2 separate regions of the Homo sapiens genome follow, and region 1 is linked to region 2. The links are contacts of gene promoters, found by promoter capture Hi-C in blood cells and fetal thymus (Javierre and others, 2016). All regions are on one chromosome and are shown on one strand. Each heading gives the region's core, a stretch centred on a gene start or on the middle of the fragment in contact. The rest is flanking DNA. Distances are from core to core; before and after follow the strand shown.

What was found. Contacts are between HindIII fragments. The CHiCAGO score rates a contact against its expected background, and 5 or more counts as called.
Region 1: a contact is called between a fragment that was not itself captured here and the fragment with the promoter of CH25H in region 2, in 1 of 17 cell types (naive CD8 T cells). The highest score is 5.6, in naive CD8 T cells.

Annotation. Positions count from the first base shown.
Region 1 is chr10:88,908,302-88,912,881 of GRCh38, forward strand. It overlaps STAMBPL1 (STAM binding protein like 1), which reads left to right. Exons shown (of 11, transcript NM_020799.4): 4 at 401-476; 5 at 2,615-2,710. Among named protein-coding and RNA genes, the nearest start is that of ACTA2-AS1, 22 kb to the right of the region's middle. The HindIII fragment of the contact is 3,443 bases long and covers 415-3,857 here.
Region 2 is chr10:89,203,966-89,208,749 of GRCh38, forward strand. It overlaps CH25H (cholesterol 25-hydroxylase), which reads right to left and starts at 3,352. Exons shown (of 1, transcript NM_003956.4): 1 at 1,664-3,352. The coding sequence starts at 3,327. The coding sequence ends at 2,509. LOC105378418 (a long non-coding RNA gene) reads left to right here. Exons shown (of 4, transcript XR_946180.4): 4 at 466-534. RefSeq lists an enhancer at 3,124-3,193. The HindIII fragment of the contact is 3,745 bases long and covers 1-3,445 here.

The sequences.
Region 1 (4,580 bases), core at 886-3,385, 300 kb before region 2:
TGAGTTTTTTTCAAGAGTGAGAAGGGATTTACATCACTCTTTCCATGCTCTGATATTTTTATGTGATTCTCTCTGTTGCCAGCAGTATGCTAAAGTAAGGTGGTGCTCTTTTGGGGCTAAGCATGCAGTACCTGAGAAAGATCAAAGTGACTTGAACTGTTTGGAAAGTACCCTGACCTTAATCTTGTTAGCTTTGGTGCTTAGTTGGTTGAGCTTAACCATTAATACCAAAATAATACTCATGCCAGACTTTAGTGAAAAGGCAGATGGCAAGACTGAAGGTAAATGAATAAGTTATTAAACATGTCATTTTTGAAAAAGGATCCTCATTCCCTTATTAGAAAGCATTATTGAACTTTTGCTGTCACATAATGCTAAGGACATGTTTTCTCTTCCTTAGCTTATTTGTAGAAAAGCTTCCTAACCATCGAGATTACCAGCAATGTGCAGTACCTGAAAAGCAGGATATTATGAAGGTATTGTGGGTTTTCTTCTCCACTGTGGAATCAAATGCTCCATAAGTATCCATTATTGATTCACCCTTCCCCTTCCTCCCCTTTCTCTTTCTCTTGAGAGTTTGAGCGCAAGAAATTCATTCCATTAACTATGATGTTTCGATTTTTTCTTAGACATTTAATGATCATCACTGAGCCAGTGTGGTTTGTCTAATTGATGCTGGGGGAAAAGAAAGAAATACGTTACCTAATAGTGTGAGGAAGGAATTATTTTACAATAATCTCTCCCAGAGGTTAAGAGAATGTTGTGTATTTCTGCGAACTTCTTTCAGATGGTCATTTTGGCTGCTTTTGATTATTTTATACAGCCCTGAACTCAATAACTGTTTGAAAATTAGTGTTAGTTATTAAGGCAGCCACAAAGTTCTAGCTATTTACATCTTATAGGACTGGAATTATAGATTAGAAAGTGTTGTGGGGGAAGCAGGAGGTGGTAGACTAAAATACTATAAAGGAAAAAGAGTGTTGCAATTTATCATCAATTTTTTAATGATTTATCACCAATAATTGCTATATCTATAATTTTGGTTATGTCTAGCTGTGAATATATTCTTTTAAATAAACATTTACAATGTTTCCCATTTATTTGTCTTTAATAGTTTGTGTTGGTCTTATATGAAGGAAGATAAAATCATGTACACAAAGCCAATTGTAGCATGAAATTTTAAATAATTTTTGAAAAACACTTTACCAAATAATGAAATAAAGGCTTTCCTATGAGTATTTTCAGACCTGAGGATGCATAAGCAAAATGCAGATTTTGTCAAATGGTCATCTACATTATTTATTTATTTATTTATTTAGAGTCAGAGTCTTGCTCTGTCACCTAGGCTGGAGTGAAGTGGCGCAATCTCGGCTCACTGCAACCCCCGCCTCCTGGGTTCAAGCAATTCTCTGCCTCAGCTTCCTGAGTAGCTGGGATTACAGGCACCTGCCACCATGCCCAGCTAATTTTTGTATTTTTAATAGAGATGGGGTTTCACCATGTTGGCCAGGCTGGTCTTGAACTCCTGACCTCAAGTGATCCACCTGCCTCTGCCTCCCAAAGTGTTAGGATTACAGGTGTGAGCCACCGCACCCAGCCAACTTTTTTAATGTCTACAGTCACTTACCTGAAGTATCATTTATTATCATGTCTTTGTGTAACATTTCCCCTCAGTTCTCTTGTTCATTCAACCTCAGAGAGTTCTGTTTGGAAACCAAAGGTACCAGGCTGTCACGGTGACTCATGTACTATAACTTAGGGTTATGCTTATTTTTTTTGTAGGAGAAAAATTCTCCAAAACCATATACATTTCCCTTGTTTATGCTTATTGAATAGATATATGAATAAATACATAAATGAATGACAAAGGATTAAGAGAATAGAAATTTGGTGAAAGAGCTAGAGTCAGGAGACTTGAGTTCCAGTCCTAAATGGGCCGCTAGCTGGTTGCATAATACCGAACAGGACTTTCAGTCTCTCCAGGCCTTTGTATCCTCAACTCTAAAAAAGAAGAGGTAGTTGGACTATATAAGAATTCCCAGATTTTCCTGCCATTAACGATCTCTGAGGAAGCTGTTTGAGATCCAGATTCCCAGACCCCTTCTCTACAGGTGTTAATTCAGTAGATCCAGATTAGGCTTGGGGGGGTCTGTATTTTTATAAAAAGTGCCTCAGCTATTCTTTTTACAGTCTAGCATGTCTGGAAATCCCTATCCACCATATATTCTCTCACATCCCTTCTAATTCTGATGCTACATGATTTATGTACTATAGAACAAGTCATTGATCTCAAACTCACTGCCTAAAAATGGGGTACCACAAAGGTAGCCACAAAGTTCTAGCTATTTACATTTTATAGCATTGGGCTATAACAAAATGCTTATCCAATCAGTGGGGCCAATAAAGGTCTTACAAAAGGGATAATAGTGTTTCTTTCCTGCTGGAAAGTTATATTTTGGACCCATAAAAAAGAGATTTATTTTTCTGCCATCATCTTTGGTTACTCATGACTTTATTTGCAGTATACCTACCAGCTGTTTTTCTTTCTCACCTGATGATCTGAAAGAGTGTATTGAAAATCCCACTAATCAATATGTATATATATTTTTAAAAGAAACTGAAGGAGATTGCATTCCCAAGGACAGATGAATTGAAAAACGACCTTTTAAAGAAATATAACGTAGAATACCAAGAATATTTGCAAAGCAAAGTAAGTTCAGTTGGTACATTTATTTCATGACTATTTTATGTACAAGTATTTTTTGAATTTCATTTTTATGTGATGAGTTTTTCAAATGTTTTGTGCATTTAAATTAAAAATTAAAGATGCAGTGATATGGAACCAATAAAAAATTTATGCTGATATCCAGGTTAAGCAGTTTCACCAACAATGTGGTATTTCTATTTCCCTACAATATCTAACAAAGCAATGTGTTAGAAAACAGATTTCCTGCAGCGATTTAAGTAGAACTTTTTGATTAACTCTTGAGCCAGATAACCTTGAGCCAGATGGCTGCTCTTTTGCCAGATGAACAGCCAGTAGGAGGTAGGGAGAGCAGTATATGGTTTCTGATGTGCCTAATGATGTAGGCCTTAGAAATGTGAATTTGATTCTTAGAATGTTACAGTCAGTATTGCATTGAGATAGAATAACAGCTAACCTTGTGGTTGAAATGTAATCATATCACCCAAAAGTGGTGGCTTCTGGATTGTTATTAATAAAGAGTGAACATTATGATAATGTCTGAGAGGCAGAAAGGCATTGGAAGAAGAAATTGGCCAGTGAATGTATGGGATACTCACGTTCAACATAGCATCATTATAGATGTTATTTTGCTTTTTTGTTTGTGTTTTATTTGCTTTAGGGGTTACCACCTTCACTGACTCTCACTTCAGTTCAATCTCATCATCTCTGAGAATGCTCATTGAGCTTTTTGACTTTCTATGGGCATAGGTGGAAGGCTGGCTTGAGTGGAGAGTTTTAACGAAGTGGTAGAGGGAATGGTGAAATTGGAAATGTCCCTCAAGTGTGTATATTAATAATGTGACTTGAAATATGAAAGATAGAAATTTTCTTGGAGGGTAAGACAAAGCAACAACAGCAAGGGAGACGAAAGCCCAGTTCAAGTCTCCTTTCCACGGTCAGCAATGTGTATGATCTTCCTCTTCATGATCTTCCTGGGAGGAACAGGCTCTGCAGCTGTTGCATGTTTTGCCTTTGATACCAGTCACTTCATAGCCTACAGTGGTGACCCATGTGGGAATCTCTGTGGGTTTAGAATAGCAGGACTGAGCCTAGGAGAGATAAACAGCAATGCCTGTGAGCCCTTGCTTCACCAGCATTAGCATCATTTGGAAGCTTGTTAGACACGCAGAATCTCAGGCCCCACCCCAGACCTGCTGAATCAGGATTTGCAACTGCAATTAGCCCCAGGATGATTTGTATGCACCTGAATGTGCCACTATAAGCTGTGTCCCCCATGCTACCGCCATCTTACAGTAGCTCCCAAATCTAGTTTCTATCAAAATCACCTGAAAGGCTCATTAATATTTCATATTATCTGACCTAATAAGCCTGGATATTTTGTTAGAACTGGAGAGCTTGGGACTCCTCCTTTTTAGCAAAACTCTGGGTTAGTGGTGACAGAGAAGGTTGGAACACATTTTAATAACCATTTTTTAGTGATTCCTTCTTATCCATAAATTTCCAGCAGAGTATGAGTTCTAGAGTCAAATGCGAAAGGTTCTAGGGCAGCACTGTTCAATAGAACTCCTGTGATGATGGAAGTGTTCTGTTTGGCACTTTCCAATATGGTATCCACTAGCCACATGTGGCTTCTGGGTACTTAAATGTGACTGACTAGTGTCCCTGAGGTACTGAATTTCTAATTTTGTTTAATTTTAATCAAGTTCAAATAACCACATGTGGCTAGTGGCCACTATATTAGAAGTGCAGTAGGGGTGAGATATTTTGTTTCATATGGTCTTGTTGGTCTGACTGAGCAAACAACCTTGACGTTGATTTTCCAGTATTTAAAAGCATTAGGGAATGAAGGGATCCTGATTGTCATGGCCTGTCT
Region 2 (4,784 bases), core at 2,102-4,601:
AACAGTCCTTGACCTGCCTCCTGCTCTCCCAGGGCTTGCTTAGACTGGCCTTGCTCTACCTCCCCTGGCTTTCTCCCCTACCCAGGCAGAGGCTTTGGCAGCCATGTGGAAGTGAAGTAGTGGGCCAGGGTAACACTGTTTTAGGGGTAGTAACAAAGGAGGAACAACAGAGGGAGGCCATTTGTTGGTGTTGCAGGGTTTGCAGCTCTCTGGCAGTTATCAGAAGAGAAGCACAGTATACACCACCAGACCTAAGTTTAGTAGAACTGGCTCCCACTCCTCCTATTTTGTAATCTGGAAAAAAGTACTTAACCTGTGTGGGTACCAATCCTCTATCCATAACAGAGGTGATGATGATAATAGTAACTATTCTACATCCCTATGGTGTTGTTGTAAGGAGCAAGTGAGAAATTGTGTGACAGCGCATGCGCATATGAACTTTTTCTTTACTATTTTTATTAACAGGTTCTCAAGCTATCTGAAAAATTGCTCATCCTTTCCACTTCCGCGGTTCTACCTCCCAAGGCATTAAAAACTGTTAAGACATTCGATTGTAAGAAAGTATTTCTAAATCCAAATTGTGCACTTTCCATGTGTATAATTTGCCCAAAATCTAAAATTACCTTATGCAGTGATGCAACATGATACATTTTTACAATTCTCTGAGGATACGCTGTGATAAATTGTTATTATCCATGATTTACAGGGCAGCTTTGGAGTGCCTACAGCTGCTTACAACTCATAGTTGCACCATAGATTCCACACCTGCCTGTTTATCCGTCTCTTCTTACTCCAGGTGCCACGTGCATCATGATAATAATATACTACCGTCAATGTAGCATTTTCTCCTCACATCTCACTTCCTCTTTTCATGGATTTCACTTTTATAAATCAATATCATCTTTAAATCCCAGCCTGGTCCTGATACAGACAGAGGAGGAGGTAACTTCAGTCAAGAAGCTAAAGGAACACACACGTTGAAGGGAACATGGGAAAACTGGCTGTGAGCTTCCACATTCTGGGGCATTCTGCCAAACATTTGGAGGGCCTAACCATATTTCTTGGGAGTCTCATTTGGCAGACCGTGGAGACCAGGTCTCTAAATGGATGCTTTACCTTTAAACATGACAGTTTGGTTCAAATATAATGAGCCAAGAATTACACACAAAGCTGCCATTCTTTATATTGTGTCTAAATTGTCTTGATTTTTAACTCTACACTATATATATTCCAAAAACAAAACTAAAATGAATAGGCAGGAGTTAGATGGGGTGAGTGATGGGTGATGGGTGTGTGGTTAATAATAGGAATATTTACTGTCATCTGCAAGAACATCTGGGACACCTCCTCCTTTTCCACATGAGGAATCAGGGATCCAGGGCCAAATTTCACTTTATCTTTCTTTTAGAAAGGGCTGTACCTGCTGCATGTATGTTTTAATTAAGAAAACTGAATATACAGAAATTCCAGATTTCAGAAGCAATGCTTTGATGTTCATTTGCAGTAGCTATGGATGGATTCATGAAAACAGGGGCTTCCTCAGAATCCCCTTGCACATCTATCAGCCACTCTAGTGTATACTATTGACTCACCAGTTTTGCAAAGCAAGGCACGCCTCCAATTCTGTTCTTCCCCTAATCCATTCCCACAAATAATAAAATGATTGACTGCTCAGCGTTAATCTTTCTATGAAACTTTACAGAGTAATCCTATCATTTGCCTGTTATACAGAAATCAGCTGAAAAGCATTAAGAATATTAGCGTGTTTTTCCTCCATGAAATTGCTAGAGCACAACAAACAGAGCCCCTTCTCCTGCCTCCTTTTCTCTAACAACCCCCAACAGAACACCCTACACCCAGATTCCTCTCTTTCCATGGTGAGGCTGATGGAGGCTTAGAAGGACACTTGGTATGCCCGCTCCCTCTTCCCTTTTTTATCAGTCAAAATACCAGTGAAACGGAAGTCAATACTTATTTGATTCATGGTTTTTTTTCCTTTTTAAAGCACGAATAACATTTCTTTCAAAATAAATATACAGTTCTATAAAAAAATATAAGAAGGTACTATAATTCTTGGTCACTGTCCAGCAGAAACATGTTTGATTGCTTTTAGAGTCAGAAGTCAACACCATCCACAAAAATACATTCTTTTAGCCAGGTTTTAGAACACTTTGAAACATAGAAAATTCCTTATTCTACAAACAAGTCCTTTTAGAGATATTCTAAATATGCCAGTGATGAATGTCTAATTCATATGCAGGATTCAAGGCTATTGAGGTGAGCTAGACTAAGAATACCAAGAACACAAAATTGTATTGATACACAAACAGTATGTAAATTACTTTGTCAGATTACAAAAATGCATCAGATTTTATCTATGGTTTTCATAGATAAACATAAAGCAATAAGTTAGTTGCTTTAAAAAAATATATAGCTCAGGTGTTTCTCTTCATTCAAGTGTGAAAGGCACAGCAGTCCCGAGTCTTAGGGGCACCCACCGCAGCCACATCACCGCGCTGGGACAGATGCAGTCCGCAGCGTTCCCAGTATTTTGTCCCAGTGTGTAAAGTACGGAGCGAAGTTGCAGTTAAAGTGAGAGTGATGCAGGTCGTGGTGCACCACACCCCCGTACCACCCGAAGGGCACCAGTCTGTGAGTGGACCAAGGGAAGTTGTAGCCGGAGTGGTCCTCCACGGAAAGCCAGATGTTGACCACGTGGAAGGTCAGGGTGGTGAGCGGGTGGCACCCGAGCAGTGTGACGTTCATCATGTCGAAGAAGCCCAAAGAAAACAGTTCCCAGACGCTCATATACTGCGTTGCCAGCGCGAACGAGGACGAGTTCTGGTGGTGCACCTTGTGGAAGGTGCGGTACAGCCAGGGCACCTTGTGGTGCAGCAGGTGCCACACGAAGAACTCCATGTCGAAGAGTAGCAGGCAGAACAGGATGTGGTGCAGCAGCAGGAGCAGCTCGGGAGCTTCGTGGGGCAGGAGGGCCGGGCTGCGGGCCCAATGCAGCAGCGTCACGGGGAACACAAACATCACATGCTGGTAGAGGGTCTGCCCCAGGCAAGGTAGCAGCTGCTGCGCGGATGGCGAGAAGTCAGGGTGGATCTTGTAGCGCCGCAGGGCGGGCACCCAGGAGCACAGGATATCCAGGACCACGAAGGGCAGGCAAAAGCCCACGTATGTGGTGATGGAGAAGATGACCGGGAAGAAGGGCGACTGTAGGAGGGCCTCCCAGCTCCTCAGGTGGTCCCAGAGGGGCTGCAGGAACAGCTGCCCGGAGCTGCAAAGGACCTGGGGGTCGGAGCAGTTGTGGCAGCTCATTGCGAGGCTGTGCAAGGCAGCTGAGGCTGCTGCTCGAGTCCCATCGACTTTTCACAGGACTCACGGCCCCGCCCCGAGTGATGTCAGCTGCCTTTCCATCCCTTTCCCGGCGATGCGAAGCTTGAATAAGCTAGCAACCCGGCAGAGTGGCCCTTCATTGCTGTAAATGTGCTCATCTATAGCCGCATCTTACCGGCTTTTAGATATGCGTGTATGCAGTGGCACTTCGTACTTTTCATGTAAGTTCTGATTTTTCAGTTGACGTACAATTAACACGGGACACAATGTACAGATCTACCGTGTGGAGTTTCTATGAGTTTGGCAACTCAGTTCACGTGTGTCATCACGGGTCTCAAACTAGACCGTTTACATTGCCACCAGAAAGCGCTCCTTTGCAATCAATGCAGAATTGTTTGTGTTTTTTAATGCATACGTATAACTGCATCCATGTGCTTTCATAAAGACGCAAGCATAATCGCATTTTAAAAACTGTTTAAAGCTACATGCGGTCTGTAGCTCGGGTGTTTTCTGAGAACCCGGTTGCGGTCTATCCAGCGGCGATCGAGAAACGAGCCCTTTGCACAGGGAACCGCTGGTCCCCGAACGCCGGCGGTGACCGTCAGCTCAGGAAATCAGACGGGAAGGGTGGCCGGATGGGAACCTCCGCCAGCTCCAGCTTGTCCCCAGAGTTTTCCTGGCCGGCGGGCAGCAAGCTAGAGAGACCACGCACGCAGGCTCTCCGGGAGAGGCCGCAGCCCGGCCGCGTAGCTACCCTCGGCGGCGCGTCCCGGGGCGCCGGGCCCGCGATCGGAGCCGGAGGCACCGCACAGCGGAAAGAGGGCTCCGCGGCGGCCAGGCTCAGCTTTGCCGGGAAAATGCTGGATTTAACTCCCAGTCTGCGCCAATCTGGCTAAAAAGCCCGTTGTATCTCAATTTGGGGCGGGAACACTTAATTCAGCAAACCACCTGCGTTGTTCGTCAAGGGAAAGAGATGTGAGTTCCTGAAGCCTCCCGGGAGGCTATTGAAGGACCAGGTGATGTCGTCACTACCCTACCCTTCCCCTTGTTGGCTTTGCGGGGCCAACTTGCAGTCGCCCTCTGCCACCGGTCCTTGAATCCACTCCGGGCCCACGGAGCCCGGCTAGGGGGCTAGTCTCTATCCCCTGCGTTTCTCCGCCACCCATCTGGGGTCCTCGGGCCAGGGGCCACCGAGCACAAGGAGGTCGGTACTAGGAGAGCTCTTGAGAGACCCTGGGAACAGCACAAAAATCCTCGCGTTCAACCCGGGGTCTGACACATGACACGATACAAGGGCCCCTTAGGGGATAGACGTTTTAGACACCAGCTTTGAAGCCAGGGAGCACTCCTAATTCTTGCTTAGTGTCTTGTATCTATGTGGTTGTGTCCAGCCCTTTACTCCTTGAAGCTTGCATTTTCTTATCCCCCCGATTCCCCAC